3 separate regions of the Homo sapiens genome follow, and regions 2 and 3 are each linked to region 1. Evidence: promoter capture Hi-C in 16 types of primary human blood cells and fetal thymus (Javierre and others, 2016). All regions are on one chromosome and are shown on one strand. Each heading gives the region's core, a stretch centred on a gene start or on the middle of the fragment in contact. The rest is flanking DNA. Distances are from core to core; before and after follow the strand shown.

Region 1 (4,224 bases), core at 632-3,131:
CTAAAGAAAGTAGTATAAGTGTATATTTTCTTTTTTTATTTTTGCAAATATGTTACTGTTTTATTAAGCCATAAAGTTTTCAGGTGGTTAGTTACACACAGTAATGAACAACTGAGGGGATGTTTAATTTTTTTCTCTAGATCTTGGGCCCTTGGTGTTAACTTTATATACATGTATTTACTATTGTGAACTGTAAACTTAGAGACCTCTATTTTTTTTTTTTTTTTTTGAGATGGAATTTCACTCTTGTTGCCCAGGCTGGAGTGCAATGGTGCGATCTCAGCTCACTGCAACCTCTGCCTCCCGGGTTCAAGCAATTCTCCTGCCTCAGCCTCCCGAGTAGCTTGGATTACAGGCGCCTGACACCGTGCCCAGCTAATTTTATATTTTTAGTAGAGACACGGTTTCACCGTGTTGATCAGGCTGGTCTTGAACTCCTGACCTCAAGTGATTGGCCACCCTCGTCCCCTCAAAGTGCTGGGATTACAGGTGTAAGCCGCAGCGCCTGGCTGAGACCTCTATTTCTAAGAGGTTGTTGTTTGTAAATATGAAAGCTGGGTATGTTCATTTTGTTACCTATACTGATGAGTTAATTTAGTTTCTAATACATTTAATTTTATTTAATTAATTATTTTCCAGATACACAGAGCAAATAGCTTCTAATAGATTTTAAATTTACAAAAGTATAACTTTTTTTTGCAGTTTTTCTTCTTGGGTGCTATTTTATTTTCTTCTATCAATATGTGAGTATTTTTTGCAAATCAGTACTTTGAACCAACAAATAGGAAATATTAGCTTAACAAAAAAGATATTCACAATCTTTGTAAGAAAAGGTTGCAGTATTATTAATGCTATAATGACATTATGTATTAAATGTATGATATCACTGGGGAAGAACTGAGTAATTCTATTACAGCTGCAGGGTAGCATTTGAGAACTTCATGACATAGGAGCAGGAATAAGACAGGAGGTTCGAAGCAGCAGAGAGGTTTCGTATTGATTCAGTTTCAAATGAATCCTGTAGTAAATTTTCCCTCGTTTGTGGCAAAATGACAAAATTAAAGACAAAGTAGTGAGTCTTTGTGTGAAACTAAATTATTCAAACTAAAGATTTATATATTTTTTAAAACTTTTCTATTCGTATTTTTTTGTGTGTTTTGTATCTCTTTCCCCTCCATTCCTTTTTACCAATTTATTCAGAAATGATCACTTTCCCATTTTGTTAAAATTTCCTTTTTCTATTTCTATGAATTGATAATTATGGCCAATGATTAATTTCATTTATTTATTTATTTTGAGATACCTAAGCTGAAGTACAGTGGCACGGTCATATTTCACTGAATCCTCTATCTCTGGGACTTAAGTTACCCTTTTGCCTTGCCTCAGCCCCACCTGAAACTATAGGCAAGTACCACCATGCCATGCTAATTTTTTTACTTTTATTTTTAGTAGAGAAGAGGTTGCCCTATGTTGCCCAGGCTGGTCTCAAACTCCTGAGTTCAAGTGATCCTTCTGCCTTGGCCTCCCAAAGTATTGGGATTTGAGCCAATGTGCCAAGCCAACAGATGCTTAATTTAGAGAAAGTTTTTATTTTGCAAGAAAGAAAGGCACAAAAACCCAAAACCAACACCAACTCTTGTTAATCTCTTCGTCTACTTCCTACTTGACACAGGTCCATGAAACCCCCAGATCCAGGAACAACGCTAGCAGGTGATTCTTAGGATTGGTTTTTTCTTTAGAACCTGTTAATTCCACTGTATAAATAACCTCCCCGAGATAACCAGAAGCCTCCCCTGCACTGGGCATTGTGCCAGGGGAGGGTGAGGCTGGAAACCTTGGTTGGCCCCACTGGGCTTCCTCCATAAAGCTTTCTGCACCTCATTCCACATCAGGAGCGTTTTTGGAGAAAGCTGCACTCTGTTGAGCTCCAGGGCGCAGTGGAGGGAGGGAGTGAAGGAGCTCTCTGTACCCAAGGAAAGTGCAGCTGAGACTCAGACAAGGTCTGTGAGTTGGGGGAATCCTGTTTTCAGCTTAGGTCTGCTTTTGGTCTCAGAGATGTGTGAAGTTTAAACAAAAGGCAAGGGGTTTTGGAGTCTTTGTAAGACTGGACAGGGGTGGGGCAGGGATGTAGAGAAAAATGATGGCCAAGATGGTGACCTTCATCTTGCTTTCTTTAGATTACAATGAACCAACTCAGCTTCCTGCTGTTTCTCATAGCGACCACCAGAGGATGGAGTACAGGTGAGTCACGCTGCTAGGGACAGCAGTTCCTTCAGCTGGATGACTTCCGGGATCCTGGTCTCTCCCAGGACACAGAGCATGTCCTTGAGATGCACAGCGGCTGGCTTGCATGTAGACTGAGTGCCGATTTCTGGTCTCTGGCGGAATCTGGCCTGTGGCAGTGAAGGTATTGCTTGAGGCATGTCCTGGGTCCAGGCTCTGTGCTTTTGTGTGGCCCTGAGGGGGCTGTGGCAAGAACTGTGTCACCTTCCAGCCACTGCCCACTCCTGTGGCCTTGGCTGTGGGATTTCCATGGGAACTACATGGTCTGCTTTGTGCCTGGAGAATGTTCTCTCCACAGTTTTCCTCTCTACAACAAGAATAACAATGACATTTTAAAATTTATATTTTTCTTCACGTCTAAAAATTTTTTTTTTAAAGAAAAGGCTGTTTCGAAATATCTTCTTACTTCATCTTTGCAAAAGCACTGTTTATTAACTGTGTTTTAGGTATGAGGAAACTGAGGTCAGTCACCTCTGACCTCACAGCTTTCCCCTAGACTGTTCGAATAGTTTGCAGACTTTTTGGAGTAGAGATTAGTCTCACCACTCCCTACTTCACACCCCATGTTTCAGCCATATTAAGCAGCTTGTAGTTCTACAGCTGGACTACGCTGTATTTTTTTTTTTTTCTCTAGGCCTTTGGATATGCTGTTTTCCCTGCCTTGGATTGGCTTCCTACTGATAAATCATGTTTATTCTCTCAGAATAAGCTAAGATGTCACCTGGACTGGAAGGTCTTCTGTGACTAAGACATGAGACAACCCGTCTTGCCTTCTTCTCCCAGGCAACTGCCCCGCTTACTGTCTGGCGTTTCCATTCTCCACTGTTACCTCAGAGTCTTTCTTTTGTTCTCTTGAGTTTGCCTTTCTTCTACCATTTATTCTTGTCAATACAATTTTCTGTTGACTTGTTAGCAATTCCCTCTAGAGGCAAGCTCTTGCTGGGGAACTTTAATGTCTTTGATTACTCAGTGCTTAGGGCAGGACCCAGCACAAGGACAGGTCTTGTGGCGGGAGGCAGACTTTAAGCCTGTGCTGGCTGTCAGGTCGGATGGGCTGAGTGGATATGATGCCGATGGGCTGAGTGGATGTGACACTGATGGGCTGAGTGGATATGACACTGGCTGTCTCAGGCCTTACCACCCGGGCAGCGAGGTTCTGCTACAGTGGTGGAATGAGCGTGGGACTAGTGATAGGAGAGGGTAGGTTTTGTGTCAAACCGGGAATGAGAATAAACCCTGTGTATTCCCTAGATGAGGCTAATACTTACTTCAAGGAATGGACCTGTTCTTCGTCTCCATCTCTGCCCAGAAGCTGCAAGGAAATCAAAGACGAATGTCCTAGTGCATTTGGTGAGTGATGAAACATTCAAACAGAGCTCAGTCAGGGTATCAGGATTGTGTCTTCTGGGAGTCTTTTTGTCTTTTAGTTAAAAAATTATGGTAAAGTATATGTATATTATAATTTACATAAGATTTGCCATTTTAAGCAACATTAAGTGTGCAATTCAGTGGCATTAATTACCTTCAAGGTTGTGCAACCATCACAGCTATCCATATGCAGAACTTTTTCAGTGCCCCAAACAGAAACTCTGTACTTAATAACATGGAGGGGCCGGGTGCGGTGGCTCAGGCCTGTAATCCCAGCACTTTAGGAGGCTGAGAGGGGTGGATCAGTTGAGGCCAGGAGTTTGAAACCAGCTTGGCTAACATGGTGGGGCCCTGTCTCTACTAAAATACAAAAATCAATTGGGTGTGGAGTACATGTTTGTAATTCCAGCTACTTGGGAGGCTGAGGTGGGAGGATCGCTTGAACTCAGGAGGCAGAGGTTGCAGTGGGCCAAGATAGTGCCACTTCACTCCAGCCTGGGCAACAGAGTGAGACTCCATCTCAAAAACAAAAACAAAAACAAAACAAAACAAAAAATAACATGGAGTTATTAA
Region 2 (4,224 bases), core at 819-3,318, 53 kb after region 1:
TCACAAGAACCTGCATATACATTATATTCATTAATTCAGCCTTCCAGGAAGGTGAGCCTCTTCCCGTGGTGGTGGTGGGGTGTTGTTGATGTAGATGTGTATTTTGCATGTGTTTGCAGTGAGAGTGTGTGTGCACATCCTGGCAAGTTGTTCTTTATTGTGTGTATCTGAGTAGCTTCTGTTAAATGACTGTATTTAAATGTCAATGGGCCAATGAGAAATGCCTTACTGGTTCTGTCTGGAGAAAAATAACAGCTTCTAGACTAAGAGAACAGTAGACTAGATGAGTTTTTGGGAGTTTCTGTGGGAGGTAAAGGACAGTCAGAGACAGAAAGGAGGTGCTTTGCACAGAGAGACTACGGGGTACTTAGTAGGTCAGCTGAGGCTATGGTGAGAGATACTGGAGGGGTTTGCAAGGCAGGGCATATTGCCTGGAGCTGGAGGAGTAGACTGGATCTAGAGAGACACAATCTTGACCTTCAGAGACCAGAGAAAGGTCCTGGCCAGTCAGTCACCTGCTGGTGGAGGCCTCTGGACTGAGGCAACCCATCCTTTTGCACTGAAATCCTTCTCCAAGCTGAGTTCGTAGCTCTCTTGTGTACTTGGAAACAGAGTTGGGTATCCTGGTACACATGGTCATTGTTTTTCTCTTGTATGGAAGGGGATGGGAAGAGTGGTGTTCCCAAGGCTGGAGCCACAGTGTGAAGCCAGAAAGCCTTAACATGGTAGTATGGGAATTTGGGAGTCCACACAACTGTGGAAGTCCATGCAGGTCAGGGACCACAGGTTTGAAGGGGTTTAGGACAGATTTTCAGACTTTTCATTCAACCTCCTTCCAATAAGCCATTCAACCTACTTGGATCCCATCGTGAGAGAGATTTGTTTTTAATTATATGCTACAATATAAGGCCATATAGATGTTCACAGGCACCATGTTCACCTGCTTTGGTGTATGTAAACTCTATATGCTACTGAATGTGCCTCTGAATTCTAGTGTCCTTGGGTTGGCAATTATTTATATGCCTGGATTGTTTACATTAAGGGTGTGTGTATGCATGCGTTGAAGAGATACATGGTTTGGGGCAGTATTTGCATTAGGATTGCCTGAGGGATATGTGTGTATGTGTATGTGTATGTGTATGTGTATGTGTGTGTGCTCTGGGAATGTGTGTGTGTATATATATACACAAATATGTATATATATGTGTGTGTGTATATATATATATATATACACACACACACACATATGTGTATGGGTTTTAGGTGTATGTGGGTATGGAACAGCAAATTCTGATTTTGGTTCAGAAATATCATATTATAGGCAAATACTGTATATATTGTGTCTTCCCTGGAGACCATAAACACCATTGTTTTGCTCCTAGGGTGACAGATTCTATTCATTTTCTGGCTGAGAGTGCCTCAGAATTTTTCTGGGCCCTGAGTCTCTTTTGGGACCTCTCACATCACTTAGGAGTGGGAGAGCACTTATCTCGAAGTTAAGTATTCTTTACCTTCTGAATTTCTAGTCTGGATCCAGGAAGAGGAACCACAGCCCTTCCTTCAATAGCACTATCTATGAAGTGGTAAGATTCTGGAACTCCTCAATGGGTTTACTGTCTGTTGCATAGCCCTGAAATCTAGCCATGAAAGGGTACACTTAGGAAAAGATCATTCACACAGTCTCAGAGTTGTAGGGAATTTAGAGATCTTCTAATGCAAGTCTTTGTTTTAGAGATGAAGACACTGAAGCCCAAGGAGAGTGAGGGTCTGACCCAAGATCATATTGCGTGTTTAGATATGATACTTACTGGGCAGCTTGGGTTTTAAATTAGGGCCGTCCCCGAGCTAGTTCCCAGGCTGTGGGCCACAAACTGGACATCTCTCCTTTCCAAGAGTGTTCGGAGGAGGGGTCAGAGAGGGGAAGATAAAGGACTCTAAATGATTTTCTAAAATTAGCAAGTCTTTGGGAGCCATTCCAGGACATAGGTGAGCTTAATCTTCTTCAGGGGTCAACACTGTTCAGAGATGACCACTGAGCCTGGTGGTTGAATTGATTCCCATCAGAGCATTTAGGGACTGGAAAGGAGGGACTCAACATTTCTTGGGGGTTTATTATGGATAAGGTAGCCTGCCAGTGTCTTCACATGGATTATTTTATTTAGTCCTCACAGAATGCTACAAGATAGGTATAATTATACTTTCCATTTATACTCAGAGAAATTAAGGCATGGAGAGCATCCCCCAACCTCCCCCACTACCCATTAGCCTCATACTACACCTGAGCCTCCCCACCTGTGGTCCAATAAAGATGCTGCCATTGGTCAGAAGGGAGGGATGGGTGGCTGCCTGCTGGAATTCCTGGCACTTCAGCTATCACCCAACATTAAAGCCAACTGGACAACCCAGGGTCATAGAGGGCACTGTGTAGACCCAGGTAGCTTGTGAGGTCATGAAAAAGCATATGTGGTTAAGAGAGTACTGGAATTGGAGCCAGAAGAACTAGATTCAAGTCCCTCCTGCACTTCACACTAGTCGTGGATCCTGAGTAATTTGTTTTGTCACTCTGAGCTTCATTTTTTAAATCTGTAAAATGGGGATGGCAAGTCATACCTCACAGGATTGTGATAAGGACCTCCCAGTGCAAGGGTCTGAAGTTTCTCCTTTTCTTTTGCAGATTGGAAAGAGTCAACCTAAAGCCCAGAACCCTGCTCGATTGAGCCGCAAAGAGCTGGAGAACTTTGATGTTTATTCCTAGTTGCTGCAGCAATTCTCACCTTTCTTGCACATCAGCATCTGCTTTGGGAATTGGCACAGTGGATGACGGCACAGGAGTCTCTATAGAACAGTTCCTAGTCTGGAGAGGATATGGAAATTTGTTCTTGTTCTATATTTTGTTTTGAAAATGATGTCTAACAACCATGATAAGAGCAAGGCTGTTAAATAATATCTTCCAATTTACAGATCAGACATGAATGGGTGGAGGGGTTAGGTTGTTCACAAAAGGCCACATTCCAAGTATTTGTAATCTAGAAAGTGTTATGTAAGTGATGTTATTAGCATCGAGATTCCCTCCACCTGATTTTCAAGCTGTCACTTGTTTCCTTTTCTCCCCTCTCTGGGTTGACTGCATTTCTAGACTCTCGCCGGCCCAGGCCCATCTTCCAAAGCAAGAGGAAGGAATGATAATGGTGACTCAGGGGAAGAAGAAACAGCCCTCCTCTGAAAGCCTGGACTGTCCGGCTGTGAACTGGCTGGCAGGTTCTGCACGTGGGTGGGGGCCAGGGCCTGGGCTTTACTCAATTGCAGAGAAAAAACTTTCTCCCTGCATCTCATACCTTTACCTCTGGCCAGTTGGCCACCAGGGGGAGTGGGCTGAAGGGAGAGTAGATGGTGCAAAGCAAGCCCATCTCTAAGTAGAAAAATCACCCAGAGCACATGCTGACCTGATAACTGGGGTGTTGAGACCAGCTTTGTCCATGGTATGATGTTTGATTTATGAAGACGCATTGTTAGAAATCCATTTGGCTTCTTCATAGAAGTGGCTTCCCAGAGGAAGAGGCCTCTCAGAAACCATGTTCTATTTAAGTTCTGAGTCCTGATGAGTGTTCCCCAGGATGCACATTGAAGGGAGGGCTCAGGCAGCTGAGGGCTGAGAATGAGGCAGTTGGAATCTAGACACTATGCTGGGTTCCCTGAGTCGTCAGGCCAGACATTTCAACAAGGCTGTGGGGAGCAGGGCTGTGACTCTGGCTGAGCCCAGGAAAGCGACAAGGGTGAACTGGGAGAGGACTTACTCAGAGACCCCAACAGGTGATACTGCACAAAGCCTGGTTCTTCAATTTTCCTACCCTGTATCTAACATAGGAGTTTCATATAAAACGGTGATATCATGCAGATGCAGTCTGAATTCCTTGCCTGAATTAAATTTATGTATCCTCTCCATACCCTGCATTTTTATTCTCTATAGCAGCCGAAGGGCACTTGTGGGCCATCAACAAACACATGTCTGTTTGAACACTGCTGTAGAGGGTCTGACTTCCTGGTGAGCTGGCAGTGTCCTTCAGCCCTGTTCACACTGGGACAGCAGAGAACTAGACACTAGGGGCTATTCCATCTTGTGAAGGAGAGCCAAGGCACTCACTTGGTCACATCCTGCAGGATCCCTTTCCCCTGAGACTGTGCTGCTGGCCAGGCTGGTTTCCTCCTGGAGAGAAGTGTGAACAG
Region 3 (2,967 bases), core at 36-2,535, 46 kb before region 1:
GTGGAGGCTTTTCTTGCTTTGTGCCCCACTTAAAATTGGCCTAGATGAAAGCAGCAGGCTCACATGTTATATGTGTTGCTTTCAAAATCCAGAGACCAACCCTGACCCAGTATTGTTTTTCACCTTGGAAAGATCATTCTGACATAGAAAATTCACTGATATGGCATATTCTGCATATAGCCTGCCAATTCTTTGGTAATTCCCCCCACCCCACCAAATTTGGGCGGGCTTAGTGACTAAGTTTTCATGAAAAGAATATGGCAGAAGTGTGACCTCTGAGACTGCATCCTAAAAAATGATACAGCTTCTTCCTGGCTTTCTCTTTCTTAGGACTTGTGCCTTCGGATCCTGATTTATTAAGTGAGAAGTCCACTATCCTGAAGCTGCTATGCTGGAGAGACCATGTGAAAAGATCATATAGAAGTAGAAAGATGCCCAAGAAGCCATATATGCTTCTTTCTGTAGCTGTTTCAGTCTGCCCACCCAGGGATCGGACATGTTAGAGAAAGAGTCTTAAAGATTATCCCAACCCCAGCCACCATGTGACTGCAACCTCATGAAAACCCCACACCAGAACAGTGGTATCAGCTCAAACTTTGCAAGGGCTAGGAGACTGAGGGCAGCTGACCAGATTTATGTGATTGAGCCTAATAAACTGGCCTGAGTAAGCTTCCCTGGTTGACAATATTCTGCGAGTATTATCACACACTGGATGTCAGGAAATTAACACTGTCCACAACTCATGGAAAGGACAACTGGGAGTTCTGTGTTTAGAGCTTTCCTGAACTCTGCCCTATGTACCCCTTCCCTTGGCTGATTTTAACCTGTATTCTTAGCTGCAATAAACCGTAACTTTCCATGAGCACTGTGAGTTTGTCTTGTGAATTATTAAACTCACGGGTGGTCTTGGGGTCCCCCCAAGCTGACAATTAATGTCAGAGAGGAGGAGGATATTGGGGGACCCCAACCTTGCAATCGGTGTCAGAAGTGAGGGTGGTCTTGTGGGCTGCTCCTCTAACAATGTATCCAGCATAACCTTGATATGAAAATCTCACAAGAGTATCACAAGAAAAGATAATTATAAGCCAACCACCCTCATGACTGTATATGCAACAATTCTAAACAGGATATTAACAAACCTACATATGAATTTGAGAGGACATAAATGTTCAGATCATAGCATTGCTGAGCATTCTGTATGAATATAGACATAATTCAAGACCAAGACTGATGATTGCTATTGTGAGTTGAACTGTGTTCCCTAAAGTGGTATGTTAAAGTCCTAATCCAAGGTACCTGTGAATGTGACCTTATTTGGAAATGAGATTTTTGCAGATGCAACTATTTAAAATGCAGTTATAGTGGATTAGGGTGGGCCCTAATTCCAATATAACTAATATCCTTATAAGAAGAGAAGAGACACAGATGCAGAAACACACACAGATGGAAGGCAGCTGTATGAAGACGGAGGCAGAGAAGGGAGTTATGTGGCCACAAATCAATAAATACCAAGGATTGGCCAGGCATGGTGCCTCATACCTGTAATCCCAGTACTTTGGGAGGCTGAGGTGGGATGATTGCTTGAGCCCAGGAGTTTGAGACCAGCCTGGGCAAAAAATACAGTGAAACTCCATTTCTATCAAAACCAAAAGCAAACAAACAAAAAACCCAAGGATTGCTTTCTACCTGAAGCTGGATGAGGCAAGAGAAGATCCTCCTGCAGAGTCTTTGGACAGAGCACAGTCCTGCTGATGCCTTAATTTTGGACTTCTCACCTCTGAAATAGAGTAATTTCTTAAAAAGCCACCTAGGTTGTGACAATTTGTTATGGCAACCCTAGGAAACTGACACAATTGTGTCATTGTTTTTTTCTCTCTACTAGTTTTAAAATTGTAAGCTTTTTTTCTATCCTTTTAGTGGCTGCTCTAGAACTAACAGCAGGCTTCATGAATGTTTTCTAATCACAAATTTGTGTGTTTATTTCTTTTAAAAGCATTAATTGCGAGCCTATTATGTGCCAGAACATATTCTAGATGCTGGGGATATAGCAACAAGTCAGGTACACATTTCTGCCTTTCTGGAGATTGTACCCTAGTACCAGGAAATATACAATATGCTATAAAAATAAATAATAGAATGTCAAGTTTTTATTTATTTATTTATTTTTATTTTTTTAAACCAGGTCTCCTTATGTTGCCCAGCTGTTCTTGAACTCCTGGGCTCAAATGATCCCCCCGCTTCAGCCTCCCAAAGTGCTGGGATTACAGGCATGAGCCACCACACCCAGACTAGAATGTTAAGTTTGAAAAGTGCTATGGAGAAAAAGAAAGTTGAGTAGCGACATAGATATATTGGGGGTGGTGGTGGTTTACAACTTTAATAGATCTTTAAAGAAGACTTCAGTGAGAAGGTGACATTGAGGAAGGATCTGAAGAAGGTGAGGGATTGAGCCATAAAGTACCAGGCAGAGGGAATAGCAACTGCCAAGGTATTGAGATGGGAGTATCTTCACTGCGTTCAGGGAGCTGCAGGGAGATTTGGCTAGCAGAAGCTGCATAAGTATGGAGGAAAGCAGCAGGTCATGACAGCACAAAGGTAAGATGGGAGCAGATTGTGTAGGATATTGTGGGCCTTCTGGGCAAGACTAGAAGCCTTCAGAGAGGTCTGAGTAGGAGGGTAGCCTGATTTAACAGGATGACTTTGGCTGTGTTGAGGATATACTGAAGACTGCCAAGAGCAGAAGCAGAGAGACCAATGAGGAGACTTGCAGCCAGCCAGGGGATGCTAGTGGCTTAGAAGAGGATGAAAGCAGTAGGATTGTGAATGGTGGTCAGGTTAGACTATTTTGAAGGTGAGGCTGACTTACTCATTCACTTGCTGCTATTTTTAAGTGATAGCTTTTTTTTTTTTTGGACAGAGTCTCGCTCTGTCACCCAGGCTGGAGTGCAGTGGCGTGATCTCGACTCA

Evidence for each region. The method cuts DNA at HindIII sites, captures the fragments that hold promoters and counts their contacts. A CHiCAGO score of 5 or more calls a contact.
Region 2: a contact is called between a fragment that was not itself captured here and the fragment with the promoter of ITLN1 in region 1, in 8 of 17 cell types (total CD8 T cells, naive CD4 T cells, naive CD8 T cells and 5 more). The highest score is 8.8, in total CD8 T cells.
Region 3: a contact is called between a fragment that was not itself captured here and the fragment with the promoter of ITLN1 in region 1, in 4 of 17 cell types (megakaryocytes, erythroblasts, M2 macrophages and 1 more). The highest score is 7.0, in megakaryocytes.

The regions. Positions count from the first base shown.
Region 1 is chr1:160,882,837-160,887,060 of GRCh38, reverse strand. ITLN1 (intelectin 1) reads left to right here and starts at 1,881. Exons shown (of 8, transcript NM_017625.3): 1 at 1,881-2,000; 2 at 2,178-2,241; 3 at 3,535-3,633. The coding sequence starts at 2,184. The HindIII fragment of the contact is 4,692 bases long and covers 1,870-4,224 here.
Region 2 is chr1:160,829,878-160,834,101 of GRCh38, reverse strand. CD244 (CD244 molecule) reads left to right here. Exons shown (of 9, transcript NM_016382.4): 7 at 1-51; 8 at 1,527-1,583; 9 at 2,675-3,942. The coding sequence ends at 2,755. Among named protein-coding and RNA genes, the nearest start is that of CD244, 31 kb to the left of the region's middle. The HindIII fragment of the contact is 4,367 bases long and covers 1-4,224 here.
Region 3 is chr1:160,929,541-160,932,507 of GRCh38, reverse strand. LOC124904441 (a long non-coding RNA gene) reads left to right here. Exons shown (of 2, transcript XR_007066689.1): 2 at 331-862. LOC101928372 (a long non-coding RNA gene) reads right to left here and starts at 43. Exons shown (of 6, transcript NR_110695.1): 1 at 1-43. The HindIII fragment of the contact is 1,228 bases long and covers 672-1,899 here.